Linked DNA regions of Homo sapiens: regions 1 and 3 are each linked to region 2. Evidence: promoter capture Hi-C in human tissues and cell types (Jung and others, 2019). All regions are on one chromosome and are shown on one strand. Each heading gives the region's core, a stretch centred on a gene start or on the middle of the fragment in contact. The rest is flanking DNA. Distances are from core to core; before and after follow the strand shown.

Region 1 (4,435 bases), core at 395-2,894, 630 kb after region 2:
TCCTAGAGCGCCATCCTCGCGTTTCCCCCCGGGCTCAGTCCTTGGCCCTGGGTGTTGCTGTGAGCACCGCTGCCTTGGTGCTCTCACAGGGTCTAGTGGACTGATAGGACCCTCTGTGTATACTGATGACTCCCAGGCAGGTATCTTCCCAACCCCAGAGCCCTGTATCCAGTAGCCTGTAAAACATACCCACTTGGCAAGGCACTTTGGCATTAAAATTATTATTATTAAAATTATTATTATTTTTAGAGATGGGATCTCACTCTGGCACCCAGGCGGGAGTGCAGTGGCATGATCACAGCTCACTTCAGCCTTGACCTCCTGGGCTCAGGTGATCTTCCTGCCTCAGCCTCCCGGGTAACTGGGACCACGGGCGCCTGCTTCCGTGTCTGGCTAATTTTTTTATTTGTAGAGATAGGTTCTAGCTCCGTTGTCTAGGCTGGTCTCCATCTCTTGGGCTCAAGCATTCCTCCCTCCTGGGCGTCCAAAAGTGTTGGAATAACAGGTGTGAGCCACCATGCCCAGCTCCTTGGCATATTTAGATCTGAGCTTATCATCTTAACACCTGCTGCCCAAACCAATTCTACCAGTCTCCCTTCTCTTCGGGAAGGGCAGCCCCTCCATCTCCCTTGGTCAGGCCAGAACCTTCAGGTTGGCCTTGATGCCTCTGTTGTCACAGCTCATGCCCAGCCCGTCTGCCCCTCCACCCTGGCGTCAGGACATGCCCAGGCCCAGCTGCTGCTGCTCTTCCCACCTCTGCCCCTGCGGCTCAAGTCGCATCTCTCTCTGGAATATTGAATAGCCTTCTGGCTGCTCCTGCTCTGCTCATGCCCACCCCGGCTGCCCCAGCGCCAGATCCTGTCGTCTTTTTGTTCTAGGAGTTTCCTGACCTGGGGATGAAGGCCAGGGTCGTTACAGTGGCTCCCAGGCCCTTTGCCCTGTAGGGTGCTGGGCCCAGTGGCCTTTCTGCCGCCATTCAGCCAGGCCAGCATGCCGAGCCCAGGGTTTTACTGCCACCTTCCTCTGTCTGGAGCGCTCCTTCCACAGATGTCCATGGTCCCATGTCCTCACCTTCAATCTTTGCCAACGTCCGTGGTCCCATGTCCTCACCTCCTTCAATCTTCGCTGAGCTGTCAGCTTGTGAAGCTTCTCTGACTCCACTGTTGAAACTGCAGCCCCAGCATCTCCCACTTCTGCCCTTTTCCCTCGTGAGTCGTGACCGCTGTCTCACATAACGGTATTTTGCTTGTTTCTGACCACTGGGATTATAAGCTCTTTTGAAGGATAGAGAAGAAATAAATTCTCCAATTAACAAATGAACAAAATAATATTAAATATTATTTTGGCAATTCTGTCTAAAGCAGTAAGAATTGAAATAGAAGTAAATGTAACCATTGAGAAAGTCAGCACAATAACGGGGCATACAGTAAGTGCACGAAACCCAGTCGCCACCCTCTATATCACCGCCAGCCAGTTAGAACACATCCCATTCACCATAACCCAAAGCAGCAGAGACAGACGATCCAACAGCATCCTTAGCAGGCAGCCTGACTGCCACGGAGCTGTTTCAGGAAAGGCCCGAAGGAAGATTGGCACTAGCAGAGGATGCCGTGTTTCTGCATGAAAACCGTAATGATATCATATTGTTCTTTTTGTGTTTGATAAATATTTCTTATTTATAATGAAAGGGACACCAAGAAGGGCTGGGCCTTGCCAGACACCACAGCCAGGTATGTAACTGCCAAAGTTGTGACCTTGTGGCAGAACAGCTGGCTCCCTTTGAAATACTTTATGGAAAGGTGAGAGAGGAAGCTCTGCTGATGTTGTGATTATGAACTGACACTCCTGCCCGCTTGCAGTCTCTGTTGTTTGGTCAGGGAGTGACCTGGGGATGAGGGCACTGGACCGCGTGGGGCACGGCCCCGGCTCTTCCGTGCTGCCGGCTTCCGAGGCTGGGGCTGCGTGGCGTGCGTGTGTGCCGCTGCCGCAGGTCGCATACCCTTTCCAAGACGGACCAGTGGCTTTAAAAGGTTCCTGCAAGGAAGTGGCTGGCTAAGGCTGGGCCTAACTGGGCGTGCACACAACAGGGAGCGCAGAGCTCAGGGCCGACAGCACTCTTGCCACTGCGAGCTTTGTAGGGCGCAACATCAATCTGGTTACATCCCCTCAGAAGTTGACTGGAAGTGTCATTTTTTCAAGAAGCCTCTTAGGGGATTCGAAGCGTTTTTCCTTGGTGAGCCTCCCTCAGGGTATGTGCTGTGCTTGGGGAGATTAGCTCAGGATGGCAGGAAGCCACCGTGATTACATGCCCCGCACCAGAACATGAGACTGGCCCCTCCAGGACGGAGAGGGATGTAAACTGCCACCCAGGGCTTAATCCAGCACTTCTGGCCCTGTGATGAGCTTCGTGATCAATATTTAGAAACCTCTTCTGGTTAATTGCAAAAGACAAAGAGCCTCATGCATTGGGGAAATTCTTCCTTCCCGTGCTGGTGAAAACATGATGATGACACACTGAAATGCGTTGCGTTTTGTCAGCAAATTCTGTCAGAAGCACGGCAAACGCTGGAGAAGGTTTGAGGAAGCGCATCCTGAAGCTGATGGCACCGTGTGGGGGCAGCGGGCGGGCAGGTGCAGACGTTTCACGCATGTCTCCACTCACACTGCTTGCCACATTCTGTTTCAGTGACGAAATCAGGGAGGATTACTGCTGTGAGTCACCAAAGGGGAAGATGTACTGGAGGAGATGTAATTTAACATTCGCTAAGTAGAGAAATCCCGTGAACATAAAAAGCTGTAATGCAACAAATTACTTAGGAAAAATTGGGGAGATGTGATAAATAAAAGTTTAATTCTTTGGTATAACCAGAAAAGATAGAACCAGAATTTAAAAGCAAATACCAAGCCAGGCACAGCGGCTCATGCCTGTAATCCCAGCACTTTGGGAGGCTGAGGCAGGAGTATCACTTGAGCCAGGAGCTCAAGGCTGCAGTGAGCCATGATTGTGTCCCTGCACTCCAGCCTGAGCAGCAGAGTGACGCCCTATATGAATGAATGAATAAGTAAGTGAATAAGTAAAAATAAATAAGCACTGGACAAGGGACACAGACAAAATGTGTAGAAGGAAAAAAGTGTTAGGTTGAATCATATACAGTTGTTATTTTTGTAAGTTAAAAGTGATGACCGAATAGACCTATAACAGGTGAAGTTACTACAAAAAACCTCACAAAGAAAAGCCTGAGACCAGATGGTTTCACTGATGAATTCTGTTAAACATTTAAAGAAGGATTTATACCAACTCTTCTAAAAACAGTTAAGGAGGGATTACATCCCACCTCCTTCTATGAGGCCAGTATAACTTTGATATAACCTTGAACCAGACAAAGACATCACAAGAAAACCATAGACCATTGTTCCAGATGAGAGAAAATAGATGCCAAAATATTCAACAAAATCTTAGAAAACTAAGAAAATCTAAGAAAACAAAATATAGAAAGGATTATGTGTCAGGACTAAGTAGGATTTCCCCCAGAAATGCAAAGTTGGTTCAACGTGTGAAAATCAATGTCGTGTATCATATTAATAGAATGAAGGACAACAACCACATAATCATCTCAATAGATGCAACAAAAGTACTTTACACTGTGAGAAATCAGTGTTTGCTGTTTAAGTTGCCCAGTCTGTGATATTTTTGTTACAGCAGCCTGAGCTGACTAAGACAGCTGCTCAGAACAGGGAGAAAATGTTTGCCAGTCATATATCTGTTAAGGGTTTAGTATTCAGAATAGGTTAGGAACTCTTCTAGTTCATTAATACAAAGGCAAAAGAAAACTTGTTTTTTTGAGTTGGATTCTCACTCTGTCACCAGGCTGGAGTGCAGTACAGTGGCGCCATCTCGGCTCACTGCAAGCTCCGCTTCCCGGGTTCACGCCATTCTTTTGCTTCAGCCTCCCAAGTAGCTGGGACTACAGGCACCTGCCACCATGCCCGGCTAATTTTTTTGTATTTTTAGTAGAGACGGGGTTTCACTGTGTTAGCCAGGTTGGTCTCGATCTCCTGACCTCGTGATCCGCCCGCCTCAGCCTCCCAAAGTGCTGGGATTATAGGCGTGAGCCACCGCGCCCAGCCAAGAAAACATTTTTTAAATGAGCACACAATTTTAGCAAACTTCTGCAAAGATATACAAATGGCCACTAAGCACATCATTAATCCTTAGGGAAATACAAACCAAAACCACAGTGAGGTGCTGCTTCCTACCCCACCAGAAGGGCTGTAGCAAAAACAATGGCGAGTTGTTGGGTGTGAATGTGGGGAATTGAAATCCTCATACGCAGCCACCTCGGAAAACAACCTGGCCGTTCTTCAGGTGACACACGGAGTTACCATAGGACCTGGCAGCTCCCCTCCTCAGCTTATCCCCAAGACCAGTAGAAAC
Region 2 (5,014 bases), core at 1,314-3,813:
GACTTTTAGTCCCAAGTCTGACCTGGCCACTTCCTGGGATCAAAGGGAGGATTTGTGAAATGGCAGGTTGGGGCGAGGGGTTATTGTGGAGGAGGACCCAGCTTCCCAACTGTAAGGGCGTCAGTCAGTGCCTACCCCTCCCCATCCAGGGGTCTGGGCTGCTGAGAGCAGCAGCCTAGAACTCAGAATCAAGACAACCCCAGTACTCATGAGGCCCCCAGCTGACTGACTCCATTACAGACGGCCTTTGGGGCTCCCCACCTGGATGCCCCAGACAGAACAGGCAGCGCGCATCTGTCCTTCCCACTGTGTTTACATGATGCATTCTGGGTCTGTGAATGGTAATGTGGATTCTTTTGAAACCCCCTCCCTGTCTTCCACCTCACGTGAACTGGGAGGTGGACAGAACTTCAACCTAGGAATTCCACAACCAGCGACAGCAAATGAGGAGCCGGAGTATCACACAACACAGGAAGCTTTATTCATCCGCTGCTGGTCCAAAGAGTGGGTCGCAGGGTCACTCACTTTAATATGCTGTCATCTTGGGCCGGAAGGTTAGAAGAAAAGCACATGTTACCACTCAGGCAACCTAAAAAGACCACTTCAGCTTCCCAGTTATTTTTTTTTTTTTTTTTTTTGTTTTGAGACGGAGTCTCGCTCTGTCACCCAATGGCGCAATCTCAGCTCACTGCAACCTCTGCATCCCAGGTTAAAGCGATTCTCCCACCTCAGCCTTCTGAGTAGCTGGGATTACATGCACCCGCCATCATGCCTGGCTAATTTTTTTTAGACAGAATTTCACTTTGCTGCTCAGGCTGGAGTGCAGTGGCGTGATCTCAGCTCACTGCAACCTCCGCCTCCCGGGTTCAAGCAATTCTCATGCCTCAGCTTTCTGAGTAGCTGGGATTACAGGTGCCTGCCACCATGCCCGGCTGATTTTTTGTATTTTAGTAGAAATGGGGTTTCACCATCTTGCCCAGGCTGGTCTCGAACTCCAGAGCTCAGGCAATCTGCCTGTCTCAGCCTCCCAAAGTGCTAGGATTACAGGCATGAGCCACCGCACCGGGCCATGCCCGGCTAATTTTTGTAGAGACAGGGTTGCACCATGTTGGTCAGGCTGGTCTTGAACTCCTAACCTCAGGTGATCTGCCCGCCTTGGCCTCCCAAAGTGCTGGGATACAGGCATGAGCCACCACGCCTGGCCAGCTTCCCCATTTTTAAACAATCCGCATCTACTTAGCTCTGCTTAAATGTCCTCCTCCATTTTCCTTATCCCTGCACAAACCTGGGAGGGACAATCTATAAGAGCCAGTGTCACTCGTACCTTCTGCCAATTCTCTGGCAATCCGTTTCAGTTCATCCTGCTTCTTCTTCTCTTCTGCTGCTATCCTCCTCTCCTCTTCTGCCCGAGGTTTTAGGTAATCTGTTTGGCGGAATGCAGGAGAATAAAATTCACTGGAAATGCTGTACAAAAGGAACTGAGTCCACAGGTCAAGGTATCTTCAGCGACGCTGTAAACCAGACGCACCTGCTGTTCCCGCTCTTTATGTTAATGCGAGTCAACGCCTGACCTTCACCCTGACGAGTCCAACCCAGAGGCTACAGGGCCCCTGCTGCCCACCCGCTCACGCACTGGCTCACTCGTCCTCTGCGAACAGGGACTGCCTCCCATCAAGACCTCAGCACTCGAACAGCCATTTAGCACCCGTTTTCACCAAGAAGCAGCCGTTTTCGAGTCCCCCGCCCGGGCCTCAGAAGCCTGAGCTTTGGGTGAGCTGATTCCACTATCGGGGTCACGCTCGGTGGAGGACACGGTCCTGCAGCCTCGCATGCGTCCCAAGCCCCCTTCCAGAGCTGGAGTTCTCCAAATAGCACAGGAGCTCCACAGGAAAGCCGAGCAGACCCCGCCCCGGCCCCGCCCGCGGTCACTCACTGTAGCGCGTGGCTCCGTAGGCCACACCGAGGAACAGGGCGGAGTAGCGGCCGAGCTGCGAAAGAGGTTGGTCAGAGGCGGCGCGAAACGGGGCTCGCGGGACGGGGGTCGCGGGAGGAGGGGGGGCGGGGTCGCTGGGCAGAGGTCGCAGGAGGGGTGGGGGTCCGGTCGCCGGGCGAGGGTCACGGGGCGAGGATCATGGGGGCGGGGGCCGGGGGTCGCAGCCCGCGGGGTCGGAGCTGCGGGGCGGGACACGGGGGGGCCCAGAGCACTGGGCGGCGGCTGCAAAGCCTGGATCACCTTGATGAGCGGAGAGACCTGCACCGGTGGCACCATCTTGTCCCTGACCTCCGCACCGGAAGCACAACCTGCAGACGGAGCAGGATGCCGCACAAGCCAGCAAAGCCTTGGAGGCAAAGGCGGAGCTGGGCGCACGCATGCGCCGTCAGCGGCGAGAGAGCGGGGGGCCGCGCCCCCTGGCGACCGAAGGGTGACTGCGCGCCCCCGCGCGGCGGTGACGTCACGTGAGGCGCACGCGCACAAAGGCTGGGGAGTGCGCGGAGGATCATCGGCTGCGCCTGCGCAGTTGCTGCGTGAGGCGGGATCTGCGCCGAGTGGGCGGGGGGTTTCCTTTCCCCGCAGGGCTGGGGGTCCGCTGTTTCCCCGCGCTGCTGCCGAGGCCCCGCCGTCCGCGTCCTGGCCGTGTGTCCACACCCCAGACTGCGGGCCGGGGCGCACTCTGTCTTCTTGCGCGGAGCGTCGGAGGCCTGAGGTCAGGGCGGCTCGGGCGGGTCCAGCCCCGCGGACCGCGCCCACCCGAGGGTGGCCTGGGCAGGGACCTGGGGGTCCTGGGAGCGGAGTGTGAGCCGAGTGCAGGTGGCTCCCCGGGCAGGTCCTTCTCCTACAAGGCAGTAGTGTCTGTCGCCGGCCGGGCCGCGTTGGATTCCGCGGCCCGCGGGAGCATGGCCTCCAGGCCCCTCTTCCTGCGGCTGCTCTGCCCGGGAGCACGGGGCGCCCTTCATCCCGGAGCTGGAGCTTCCTCACCCCAGGATGCCCCATCACTTCTGTCCCGAAGAGGGGCTGGGATCTTCTTGGGAAGACCAGCCCCCAACAGAGGCTGCTCCCTGGGTCCCCCGACTCCAGGCCTCAGGACTCCACGGCTCCAAGGGCCTGCCCCGGCCCAGGCCTGGGGACCACTGAGCCCCACACTGGTCTTTGCTGGCCTCTGTCCACCTCCCGGTAGCTGTGTGTCTCCCACAGCTGCCCAGAGATGGGGCCTGCGGTGCCTATGCAGCCTCCCCGCTGTGCCCGAAGTGCTGACCCGCCAGCCCCATGGACACCAGGCTTGGAGTCTAGGCAGGAGCCTGGCACCCCCTCCACGTTCTGGGTCTTCCTGGCGGCAGCCATGCTGCCCGTGCTGGGCCACCCTCGGGCCCCCTTTGGCCCCATGCAGTAGTGACGCAAGGCCTCCTGTGTCCCCTCCTGGCCCTGCACTGCTACAGGCAGAAGCAACTGGAGAACTATGGCTCGGGTCTCGCTAAGGTGCAGCATCACAAACTCCAGGACTCTTGAAGCAAGCATGGGGAGGACCCGTGATCCTGGCGGCCTGGGCTACCTGTCCGGGCCTAAGTCGCCTCTGCCCCCTCTCCTGGCTTGCTCTGGGGTCCAGGGCCTGGGCCTCTCTGGCTGAGAAACTAGGAAGTCACTGGGCTCTGTTTCCTGAGCTGGGTATACCAAGGCCAGTCCTATAGGGCAGGGGTCCCCAACCCCCAGGTGCAGACCAGTACCAGCTTGTGGCCCGTTAGGAACCGGGCAGCACAGGACGAGGTGAGGGAGCATGATTGCCCGAGCTCCACCCACTTTCAGATCAGCCTGGGCATCAGATTCCCATAGGAGCGTGAACCCTACTGTGAGCTGCGCACTTGGATCTGGATTGCGCTCTGGTGAGAATCTAATGCCTGATGAACTGAGGTGGAATAGTTTCATCCCGAAACCTTCCTCCCCAACACGGAAAAACTGTCCTCCGTGAAACCTGTCCCAGGCGCCAAAAAGGTTAGGTACTTGCTGTAGGGCCACCTGATCTTTTCTCCAGCTTCTGTGAGGTTGGCTGGCAGTCCCTGAAGACTCCTGCCTGAGGCCTCTGCCTGAACCCTGTCCTCAGGGGGCCAGAAGCAAACTCCAGCCCTCCCCGTGTCTACTGCTCGCTGAGGAAGCCGCAGGTGCACACTGGATCCACAAGGCACAGAACCATCTTGGCCCTCGGCAAGCCCCCGCTTCCGCCAGGGCAGACGGCCTCAGGTGACAATGGGTTTTCCCTTCACTGGAGTTTAAAATAATCCAGACTCCTCAGCAACTCCTGCTTCCAGAATCAAAAATAAGTGTCTCTGGGGCCCAAGGTAGGGGGTGAGGGGGACATACCAGCAGCTTCCACCAGAGGTGGGGCGGGGCAGGGCACCAGCAGAGAAAACATGCGGGCAAACACACACGGCCTGGGGAAAACCCCCTGAAGCCAATGGAGACTTGCCTTTGCTCAAGGCCTTTCCTGAGAGCTTAGTGGTGGGACGGGTCCCACCTGGCTCAGCACACCGCCCGCAGGGGCCTCTGCAGCTGTCAGGTCAGCTGTGGGTGCAGAAGCCGATACTCCCCCGGCTCAGGCTTGCTGCTATCTTTAGCACTGTGCTCAGACTCCAGTGGCCTGGGAACCCTCTGCAGGGGGCTCTGCAGCCCTTCTCACATTCCCGGTGGCCTCGGGGGGCCTCCCAACCATGCTTCCCCCCTCGGTGTGGTTCTCCCCACTCCTGCAGCCCAGCAGTGCCCCTTCAGGATCACACCCAGACCCCACTGGACTGGCAGCAGGGGATGCCCTGGCCCTTGCTCCCAGCCCCAGGGTTCCACATCTGGTCACCTGACACCTTGCAGTCGGCCCCAGGTCCCTCCTGGGCAGGTCATGCCTCCAGGGTCCTCAACCTCAGGAGTCAGTGCTTCATAGAGGCCGCTGGACCTGGGGATGGCACCAGGCAGCATCTCAGGGGACGCCAACTGTGACCATGTGTCCCTCAGGGGGTAGGACCTCTGCTCAAG
Region 3 (4,995 bases), core at 1,405-3,904, 530 kb before region 2:
GGGACCTGGTTAATGTGTGATGCCCTCCTTTGGTATGGTTTGGCCCCAGTGCTCTTTGGATTCTGGGGAGGTTTGGCCTTTAAAAATCAAACTGCCATGGAGACTGCTTTACCCAAAATTTTGGTTCACAGCCTTCATTGGATTATCTACTGGGGCAAAGTAAAACCAGTAAGTTTCTATTGCTATCTCATGGCTAAGGTTCCAAGCTATTGAGTCTTCATTTATGTGTGTGTATACATGTCTAGATGTCTTTATTTGCATGTACACTTACTGTTATATGTTATGTCTACCAAATTGGCTTATAAGTAAAAGAGCACTCATAAGTAAGTCTAAGCAATTTTCAAGTTCATGTGACTTAAAGTATAACTTTACTAAACAAGCTAGCTTTAAAATTATTGGTGGAATAAAAATATAAATGCCTTCATAATTATCAGCATACATTTTGTCTGAATTTTATGTTTGTCTTTGCTAAATATTTTTAAATGTCAGTGTTAATTCAAGCTGGGAGCTACTTAGGGTGAGCCTGCCTTCTTCCATTCTATCCGAAGTCTCTTCTAAAGTTGCGGAATTGTCCATATCCATTAGTTCAGGATTTTTTGTTTTTTAGGGTTTCACTAAAGTTTCAGGTTTCTATTTAACATGTAATTCTGTATACCAAATGTACCAGAAAGGGTTATGTTATTCATGAAAAAAAAAGAGAATAGTTTTGTCTAATTCAATAGTTATCTAAAAGTTGGTTCAAATTACAGATTTAAAAAGGTTATTCATAAAACAATGTAGTAAGGAATCATTAGGCAAAAAATGTGGGAAAAGTTTAAATCATAAAATATTTTTTAAACCCTGATAAAGAATTGGAGACGTTTGGCTAATTAAACATTTTCATAAAGCTGTTAGTTTTGATTAAAGTAAAATAAAAAGTATTGTAAAAATGCATCAGCAGTTTGGCAATTATTTTTTTAAATATAGTTAAGCATGAAGCTGGATATAATGTAAAGCCAAATTTCACATACATGCTTGTTTCCTAATGCCTGGCTTTTTGGATGGATCAGAGGGCCACTGAAAACATTCAGAAAGGAGGTAAACAGGATTATTTGACATGTTTGGGTACATGTGATTGCTAAAATGATGTTCAATCTGCTTTAGGTTATATTTTTGTGAATAATACTAATATATGTTCCAAAACTGTATGAGATTTCTAAAATAGTATATGCTGTCAATTATAATTATGGTTATTATGTTATTATAAACTGCAGAAATAATCAAATTTCCTTGTATAAAGCTACTGACCTACTAACACAAGTAAAACAAAAATTAAATACCAAAACAATACAATACAATTAAAGCTTCAGGTATATTTGGTCACCTGGTGGGCCATTTAAACATTTTATAAAGGGATTTCATTCAGTTGTTATTTTCAATGCATGTTTTCTGTTGTATAAAAGCTTTACTATGCAAGGAGGCTGAGATTATTATGCTACAGTATATTTCCAGCAGGTAAAAAAGCTTTTTATGGTTTAAATCTTCTGAGAACATAGGAGAAAAACTGTCCTTGCCACCCACACTACAACAAAATGTCAGGACTTTGGGCTTTAGGTTAACGGGTTTTGATAAGGGTCCCTCCACATTTTTGGAACTGTGCAGCCATTGGAACCCTTGAGGTGAAGCTAACCAGGGAGATTTCTCCCAAGAAGATGGCATCCTTGATGTAAACAGCTTTTCCCAAGTTCACAAATTAAAACTTCTATCATAAAACTCTTACCTTTGAATTTTTTTTCTTATGCTTCTACAAACATTAAAAGTAGAAAAGGGATCTGTTAAGTGCATTTATGGAGTATACTTCTATTTGTGAAGGAGTTTGCAGCCAGCCTTATATATGGATAAGCTTATACTTAGATAAATAAAAGATGAAAGCCCAGTCAGTGTAAGTAAGAAACTTTAATGGTACATACATTGCCTCATAATCAGTCCAAAAACAAAACATTGGTTCACTCCTGTTAACCCACACCGTGGGCTAAAGAGACCATTGCCAGGAGGCCTTCACTCTTCTAGAGGGGCATCATTTGTTAGGTCCTTTCCCATGGTTTAAAGTAAAAGAAGCAATGATTTAAAAAGGTATCCCTCATGATAGGCTCTATAGCAAATTCTACTGTAAAGGCTACAGTTACACAATAGACTTTAAATTCTTTTGTGAAAGTTATAATAGAATTGACTAAACAAAGAGGTACCTGTGCAGCTGCTGGCACTTGTGGCTTATGGAGAAATACATCAAATGAAGATTATAGAAATTCAGTGGTAGGGGATTAACAAAGAAATTGCTTAGTTAAGTAAGTAAACTCTTTATCTGGCTCATTCTTTGATCTATTTAATTTTACGAGGTTTGGTTTATGGAAACCTTGAGTAAGGAGCATACTGTGAACTCTTGGTATTTTCCTCCCAATAGTCATAATAATAGTCTCCCTTGTGTGCTGTATTCTCTCAAAGGTTTTAAATGCTTGCATGCAGCCATCTCTAGGATGTCATATGGTCTCTCTTCAACTAGAATAACAGAAGCTAAAAGAAACGTGCAACCATGAGAACACCGTAACCTATAAATAATGTGCTGAGACCAGAAATCCAAAATGATGGTAACTGAGAGTGGCTCTAAGGCCCTAAATTTTGGACACACACTAATCTAAGTGAGAACCTAACCAAAAAGGGGGAATTTCGTTTTGTTTTGTTTGAGACGGAGTCTCTGTCACCCAGACTGGAGTGCAGTGGTGTAATCTTGGCTCACTGCAACCTCTGCCTCCCAGGTTCAAGCAATTCTTTGCCTCAGCCTCCCAAGTAGCTGGGATTAGTGCCTACCACCACGCCTGGCTAATTTTTCTATTTTTAGTAGAGACGGGGTTTCACCATTTTGTCCAGGCTGATCTTGAACTCCTGACCTTGTGATCCACCTGCCTTAGCCTCCCAAAGTGCTAGGATTACAGGCGTGAGCCAGTGTGCACGGCCAAGGGGGAAGTTTTTAAACAAAATTCTGGGATGCCATTGTTTTGGACTAAGCTCATACACTAGGCACCAACAGACCAAAACAAAATGGAGTTGCTTGTGCCAAGACTTTAAGGAAACACATAAATTCTAGAACAAATCAGGTTTTTTTTCTCCTGCAAATCTCTGTAACAAACATTCTTAACAGCATAGGTATCCACCCCCATTATATCTTTTAACCAAACACGTTTGCTCTTGCCTAGAGACCATCAAGCTTCACTGATCATGCAGTGAAATCTCCAGCCAGTTCCAGGTGAAAACACACCCCTGGCCATCAAGAAACTACCCTGCCTCCACTAGACAGAACAGGGCGAGAGTACTGTGATCCCCAATAGACAGGGACTATGCCCCAAGCCAGCATAAAGCAGTTACAGAAAGAAAAAGACCGTTGACCCCCCCGTCTCCTATAAGGATTTATGGGGATCACATCTCTCGGGGGACATGAGGCAGGAAAACGGTCTGGAGGCAGGGACCATAAGCCCAATTCACACTTCAGCTATAACAGGAAATATCCTCTCCATAGGGCATCCACCGTTAATAACTAAATTTACTTCACCCTCTCCATTTACGTTGGGCATACCCAAAGTAACCAATGGAATACTCTAGGTGGTATTTAAGCTCCCAAAAATTCTGTAAGGGGGCCTTCGAGCCCCTATGCTCGGGCCCGCACTGTGGAGTGTACTTTCATTTTTAGTAAATCCTTTTATTCCTTCCTTGCTTTGTGTATTTTGTCCAATTCTTTGTTCAAGATGCCAAGAACCCGGATACTTTCTAGCGGTAACAATATATTCCTGACAGCTTTGTCAAAAAGAAGTTTGCTGTAATATGGATTTATCTCTGCATTCGCTCTACTGTTTTACTGATCAGTTTTATGCCATTTTAATTACGGTAGCTCTGTTGTATCATTTAAATTCAAATACTATGATTCCTCCAGTTTCTTTTCTGGTACAATGGCTTTGGCTATTTTGAGTCTTTTATGGGTCTGTCTACATTATAAGATTGTTTTTCCTATTTCTGTGAAGAATGTCATTGATGCTTTGATAGGAATTGCATTAAATCTGTAGATCATTTTGGGTAGTATGAAAATTTTAATAATACTGATCCTTCCTATTCATGAACATAAAATATCTTTCCTTTTTTTTCTCTTGTTTAATTTCTTGCATCGATGTTTTATAGTATTCATCATAGAGATCTTTCACTTCTTTGGTTAAGTTCATTCCTGGTATTTAATTTTAATTTGTGGCTACCGTAAATGGAATTACTCTCTTGGTTTGATTTTCACATTGTTCACTGTTGGCATGTAGAAACACTAATTTTTTAATCCTGTATCTTGACTAAATGTATGAGTTCTAATGGTGTTTTAGTGAAGTAGGTTTTTTCAAATATAAGACCCCATCATATGCAAAGTTTTTTTTGTGACAGATTTTTTTTTTCTATATGTCTCTTTTGTTTGATATAGCCACTCGTACACTTTTTTAGTTATTGGCATGGAATATTCTTTTTCATCTTCGAACCACTAATTCCCAGTGTGGGAATAATGATACTAACCCTTTCATGAGAGTAGAGCTCTCATAACCTAATAGCTTCTTAAGGGGCTCACTTCATTTTCTCACAGTGGCAGTTAAATATTAACATAAATTTTGGAGGGACACTCAAACAATAGCAATATGTTTTCACTGGATAAGTAAATGTTTTTCTATTTAGAGGAATTATTGATGAGAACTTATTACTGCCATTTTGTTCATTGTTTTCTGACCAGTTAGTAGTTTCTGTGTTTTAATTCTTTCATGCTTTCTTCCCTTGCGTTTTCTTGAATTTTTGTTTTGTTTTTCTTATATGCTTTGATTCTTTTTCTTTTGTATCTACTGCCATTTTTATTTTAATTTCCAAGAGACTTACATAAAACATCTCATAGTTATAAAAGTCTAGCTTGAGATAACAATGTAACTTCTTTTTTTGTACAGATAG

The links. Contacts are between HindIII fragments. The study calls those that stand out against the background at their distance.
Region 1: a fragment that was not itself captured here is called in contact with the fragment with the promoter of MYL5 in region 2 in 1 of the 25 tissues and cell types used here (lymphoblastoid cells).
Region 3: a contact is called between a fragment that was not itself captured here and the fragment with the promoter of MYL5 in region 2, in 4 of the 25 tissues and cell types used here (dorsolateral prefrontal cortex, lymphoblastoid cells, spleen and 1 more).

What each region holds. Positions count from the first base shown.
Region 1 is chr4:1,298,652-1,303,086 of GRCh38, forward strand. All of the region lies in intron 1 of MAEA (macrophage erythroblast attacher, E3 ubiquitin ligase), which reads left to right. Among named protein-coding and RNA genes, the nearest start is that of MAEA, 11 kb to the left of the region's middle. The HindIII fragment of the contact is 9,660 bases long and covers 1-4,435 here.
Region 2 is chr4:671,979-676,992 of GRCh38, forward strand. It overlaps MYL5 (myosin light chain 5), which reads left to right and starts at 2,564. Exons shown (of 9, transcript NM_002477.2): 1 at 2,564-2,705; 2 at 4,095-4,231. ATP5ME (ATP synthase membrane subunit e) reads right to left here and starts at 2,298. Exons shown (of 4, transcript NM_007100.4): 1 at 2,234-2,298; 2 at 1,934-1,988; 3 at 1,325-1,423; 4 at 458-541. The coding sequence starts at 2,269. The coding sequence ends at 522. It also overlaps a transcript of SLC49A3 not described here. RefSeq lists enhancers at 2,430-3,187, 3,065-3,134 and a silencer at 2,585-2,854. The HindIII fragment of the contact is 2,744 bases long and covers 94-2,837 here.
Region 3 is chr4:140,495-145,489 of GRCh38, forward strand. The region is part of intron 3 of ZNF718 (zinc finger protein 718); the gene reads left to right. Among named protein-coding and RNA genes, the nearest start is that of ZNF718, 18 kb to the left of the region's middle. The HindIII fragment of the contact is 4,248 bases long and covers 531-4,778 here.